Linked DNA regions of Homo sapiens: region 2 is linked to region 1. The links are contacts of gene promoters, found by promoter capture Hi-C in blood cells and fetal thymus (Javierre and others, 2016). All regions are on one chromosome and are shown on one strand. Each heading gives the region's core, a stretch centred on a gene start or on the middle of the fragment in contact. The rest is flanking DNA. Distances are from core to core; before and after follow the strand shown.

Evidence for each region. Contacts are between HindIII fragments. The CHiCAGO score rates a contact against its expected background, and 5 or more counts as called.
Region 2: a contact is called between a fragment that was not itself captured here and the fragment with the promoter of DZANK1 in region 1, in 1 of 17 cell types (total B cells). The highest score is 7.6, in total B cells.

What each region holds. Positions count from the first base shown.
Region 1 is chr20:18,465,580-18,468,279 of GRCh38, forward strand. It overlaps DZANK1 (double zinc ribbon and ankyrin repeat domains 1), which reads right to left and starts at 1,451. Exons shown (of 21, transcript NM_001367614.1): 1 at 1,417-1,451. POLR3F (RNA polymerase III subunit F) reads left to right here and starts at 1,811. Exons shown (of 9, transcript NM_006466.4): 1 at 1,811-1,989. The coding sequence starts at 1,928. RefSeq lists enhancers at 1,331-1,949, 1,572-1,891. The HindIII fragment of the contact is 20,751 bases long and covers 1-2,700 here.
Region 2 is chr20:17,506,994-17,509,861 of GRCh38, forward strand. It overlaps BFSP1 (beaded filament structural protein 1), which reads right to left. Exons shown (of 8, transcript NM_001195.5): 5 at 1,896-2,003. Among named protein-coding and RNA genes, the nearest start is that of BFSP1, 23 kb to the right of the region's middle. The HindIII fragment of the contact is 208 bases long and covers 1,336-1,543 here.

The DNA.
Region 1 (2,700 bases), core at 201-2,700:
ACCTCACTTCTGCGAAAGGAGCATGAATGAATGAGATGGGGAAAAGAAAGAAGTTACTTTAAAAGGACAAATTAAATGAGTAAGGCAAAACAGAGACTATCACTAACGCTCTGACTTGAGTTCCCTGTAAATCATTATCGCCTTTTCCTGCCTCTGGTGTGTGTCAGCTCTCTTGGCTTCAGGGCAAGTCATCATACAAGGGGAACAGAAGTAATTCTGTGTGTACCACAAAATGTTAGTTAGAGCTAACTTTTTTGGGAAAGCTCCGGGTTCACAGCCTTGCCATTATCACCAGAGCAGTTCTAGTATTTGAAAGCTGCAAAGACACTTTAGAAGGACTGCAGAGTACTACTTCTCAGTGGAAAGGAAGTTTGCAAGAATATAAACAGTGACCAATAAACACAAGCCTCCCGTTTCATCTACTGTATTTATAAATCCTGGTATTAATAATTAACTACCAGTATGAAAGCCTTACTGGTCTTTTTGGAGGTGAGGGTGGGGAGGAAGGTTGTCATAATTAATGCACAGAAGGTTTCAGGGGGAAAAAACGCTCACCTTAACACAACAACCATTTACATCTCTGTATTGCCTTTTCAAATTTCATTAATAATCCATAGATTTTGCCCAATTATAATCTACATATTCATTCCATTTTTATAGTCTACTTCTTGCATTCTCACTGTATTATTTAGTTTTCCCTGTACTTATTTATCCATTTGTGGCTGGGCATTTAGGCTATTTCTAGTTTCTTTTTAGTTTTGCCTGTTGCAGTTCTAATAATGCTGATCTGAACATGTCTGCAGTTTGAGCTTTGTCACAGACTGTATTCTCAAAAATGGGGTACCTAAATTTAAGGGGTGAACTTAATGCCTTGTTGGATAGTTCCGGATCTAGGGCCAAGAATATAAACTACAGATACTGACAGCACAACAATAGCTCCTACGGGAGTGTGGCTGGACTTGAGACTTGCCCATAGTCGCATTTCCATTTAAGTGAAAGGCAGATAAAATAAAAGTAGTTGAAAAATTCTAAATAAAAAATATGTAGGAGAGGAAGTAATTCGCGAGCGTCAACTAGCAGCTGCCCTTAGGAAGCTGGGGTGGCCAGTGGGCCCCACGCAAAGGGAATCAAGAAAAAAGGCGGATCCGCCAGGCCCAAATGGCAACGTGCAGTCAACAGGATCCCCAGACCCCTCAACTCTCCCAACGTGGACCGCCCCCTCGCAGCCCGGATCCGGAATCCCGTTTGGTTGTTCCCGCCCATCAGGGGCTGCCAAGGACACCTGCATCCTTTCGGCTGGAGTAAGGGAAGCTCTTCCCCTCCTCTAGCCGCCCTCCTCTTCCTCTAACCGCGGGGCCCGGGATCGGGACCCCTAATGCATCTCTGCCGCGCCCAACCCAGTCGCCAGCCTCTCACCGCCTCTTGCCTCCTCCTTCGCCGCCGCCCGGGTTACCACAGACGCGGCGAGCCGCGCCCCGCCCACTGGGTGCTGGGCAGATGATTGGTGGAGACTCAGCTTCTTAGCAACTAGACCGGCCCCTGCCGCTCCGCAGGGAGCCTGGTACCCGCCTGGAGTTCCTTTCCCAGTGCTTTCCCATAGGCATCTAAGAATATTCCTTCACAGAGTTGCCAAGTGCTAAAAGTTGGTTTCCCAACTCAGAATGAAGGAACCAGGCTTGTGCGTCCGATGGGCATTGACATTCTGGAAAACAAGAATAAGAAGCTGTAGCGGCGCCTGTAAGTGGGCCGGAGCAGGCGCAGCTTGGCCACCTCCCGCCGAAAGGCAAGGAAGGACCGGCTGCGACACGAGGAAGAAGGCCCCTCGGCCTCAGCAGAGCGCTATCCTCCACTGGTTCCCCGGGTTCCCCGGCTTGCTACCGGGCTGCTCCGTGCATCTTTCCCCCCAGGCGTCAGGAACTGCGCCCTCATGGCGGAGGTGAAGGTGAAGGTGCAGCCGCCTGACGCGGATCCGGTCGAAATAGAAAACAGGTAAACCAGTGAGGCTCCGGCTTGGCACTCCATCAGGCGCCCAGTCATTTGGGCAGCTGGACCCCTTCTCCGGGATCCCTTGGGAGTGGCCGGAGCGGGTTAGGTGAGCACGCGGGAAAAACGATTGCGGGGTTCTGGACCCACTTGTTCCTTCCCATCCTGGGAGAGCAGAACTCAAGAAGTTCAAAATGGGTTTGACAGCTTGCAACTTTGTGTAGCTGGCTGGCTTTGCCCTGATACTTTTGGGGAAGTTGTGATGACGTGCTGCCTTCCTACTTTGACGCGATCAGTGCTTTGAGAGGAGCCCTCGGCTTTCTTTCCCTGTAGAACACTTGTGAATACATGTTCTGATCCAGGATCGCTCTTGTCACTAAGGGAACGTCTATGACAAAACGTTTAGGCGGAGTTAGGGCGCAGTTGGTGATTACGAAGTAACATTAAGCCAGGTGGTTTCAGTGCAGTATTGAACTCAAGACTTTTAGGACACCCAAAGCCTCTGCCACTTTTATTTTTATTTGTTTGTTTGTGAGACAGAGTCTCGCTCTGTCGCCAGGCTGGAGTGCAGTGGCGCGATCTCGGTTCACTGCAATCTCCGCCTCCCGGGTTCAAGCGATTCCCCTGCCTTAGCCTCCCGAGTAGCTGGGACTACAGGCTCGCGCCACCACGCCCAGCTAATTTTTTATGTTTTAGTAGAGACGGGGTTTCACCATG
Region 2 (2,868 bases), core at 190-2,689, 960 kb before region 1:
TGCAGCCACTCAGGACAGAAACAGGCGGCCAACCAGCGGTTTCATTTCATGTTCTCAGAAACCAGGTTAATCTGTTGTGAAATTTCTTATTTTGATATTCAACAAATACCTGTACATAAAGAGAGGAACATTCTTTTTGTCCTGGAACTGGAATTTGCCATCTAGGCTGGGCTCCTTCATCTTTCTCAGTATCTCTAGGGCAGTGGTTTTCAACTTTATCACCACCGCCCCAGGAAAAACCACATTTCTCATTGCGAGCCATACACATCAGATAGGTAGGTGTGTGTGTGTGTGTGTGTGTGTGTGTGTGTGTATTTCAACATATCCATATGGATATAGAGAGATAAAACAAGGGCTTCACAAAACAAATCCTCCCTTTCACTTGCTGTACACTCTGTTTTTCTTATTATATTTTAGTCTAGCATTTTGTTGACTTCCTTTTACATGCCAGTCAATTCTACTGAGTTCATTTTACATCCAAAAATGAGTTGTCACTAGCCATTTGGAAAACACTGGTCTCTAGGACCACGACTGGGCTTGTATCCACGTCCCTATTCACATACACAGCACACACACATACACATGACACACACACACCACACACACTTCACATACACATCCCACATATATCACACATACCATGTATATCACACACACACACCCCATGTACACAAACACATACAACCCTTATTCTATCCTGTCAGAGCCTCAGAAGAAACCACACAGGCCCCAGTCACCAGGATGAGGCACATGGTCCCTGAGCCAGGGTTTGTCTCACAAGAAGGAGGAGTTTTAAGTGCCTTACTTGGTTCCTCCTGCTGCGATCGTCAGTTCAGGGGACCACCACAGACCCGGGTTTGCTTTCCAGCAGCCCCTGAGAGCTGCTGCACTGTGAGTTTTGTGTGGTGCGTGCTGGGATGGGAATTAGGATGTGAACTCCAAGGTCCCAAAATGAAATCCTGAGCAGACATGGGGGCACTGGAAATCAATAAAAAGCGCTACATCTAGTTGTGGCTTCACATTTTTAGACAGAGTAACACATAACATCCAAATGGTCCAGGCTTTCTGAAGTGTCCGATTTTTACACGTTTTGCTCTCTTGTCCCCATGTGTACTTGTCAAACCAAATGTCAACTTACTTTTTGGTTTGGGAAATGTGGTTAGAGAGCCATACAAAGGTGCAGTATTTTAACCCAAGCGTCCCTGTGGAATGACCTGCTGTAGGGTAATGAGAAAGAGAGAGAACCGGAAGGAACAAAGAAGATGAGCCGGCAAGTAGCCAAGAAGGCACAGGCCACAGGACAGTTTGGGGCTTTTCTGTTTTGTTTTCAAATTAAGCTTCACCCAAAAGGGGTGGGGGTAGAAATGTGAGCTTTCCACCAACACGTTTCTAACTAGAAGCAAACACTGATACAACCACTCTTGCCGGGTTGTAATCAAATTCCGAAGGAGAACTGTTACCATGAGAAGGAAAACAGAAGCACAGATTTGAACAAGTGGAGGATAAAAATCCCTATGGTGTCCGTTTCTTCTTATTCTTACGAAGCTTGACCTGGGCAAAATGAATGCATGATGTAGACACTGGGGCAGCCTAAGCCTAAGACTCGGTGGGGAGGGCATGACTCGAAGGAGTCCCAAGGGGCACCTCTGAGGGGCCAGGAATGAGCGTGGCACCTGTGTCCCCCAGCTCAGGACTCTCCCTGTGTCCTGGAAAACTCCTCAGTCCAGGCCAGAGCAGAGCGCTTGGCCACCCACTCAGAAAACCCCGTTTCTGCCAGGAACATAGGATATGTTCAGCGTGTGACAGCTCCTCAAGCTGCATGCGTGTGCCTGCGCGTAACACCTCCATGAAACATGTGGGAAGCCCCAATGCACACGCGGCAGACTCGAGCGTACCTGTGCCTGCAGCTCCACTCTCTGCGCCTGCAGGTGGGAGAGCACCTCCCGGCCCTCCTCCAGCTGACTCCGCAGGGCGGCCACCTCCCGCTCCGTCAGGAGCTTCTCCTGCACAGAGAAGGCCAGAGTCAGACTCATGGGACATGCAGAGAGGAAAAGGGCAGAGAAGGTGCGGGGCCCTGGTATGGACGGAATATCCGTGTCCCCCTGAATTCTGTGTTGAAGCCCTAACTAACTCCCAAGATGAAGGTTTTAGGAGACCTTTGGAAGGTGTTAGGGTTAGATGAGGTCATGAGGATGGGGGGCCCCATCATGTGATTAGGGTCTTTGTAAGAACAAGAAGAGACACCAGAGCCCCCACCCCCACCCCCTGTCTGTCTGTCACGTGAGACACAGCAAGAAGGCAGCCGTCTTCAAGCCAGAAAGAGAGCCCTCACCAGACACCAATTCTGCTGGCATCTTGATCTTGGACTTCCAGCACCCAGGACAGTGAGAAGTAAATGTCTGCCTGTCGGCCCTCCCATCTGTAGTGTCCTGTTATAGTAGCCTGAGAAGACTAAGCCAGGCCCACAGCACAGCCATCAATGCCTTTTGCTTTGTCTTCAAAGTCTGAACCTCCTTGGGAGTGTGACATGCCGGGACCAAGTACCAGGAGACCAGAGCTTAGACCTGGCTGTGCCATGAACCTACTAAGAGACTCTAGAAAAGGATTTGACTCTCAAAGCCTCTGTTTTCCCTTCTGTGAAAGGGAAAACCTGGAATGCACACTCTCGAAGAAAATGAAGGCTGGTTGGAGCCGCGAGCCATACGCTGTGCTCGGATGTCAGCGCAGCACAAAGCAGGAGCCATCAGCCCCAGTGGGTGAAAGGGAAGTGACGCTCCAGGGAATGGCTAGAAGGAAATCCTCTGACCTCTCCACACTCTGCCAAGCAGGTCCCTCTCTCCTGACCTGCCTTTCCACGTCTATTCAAAA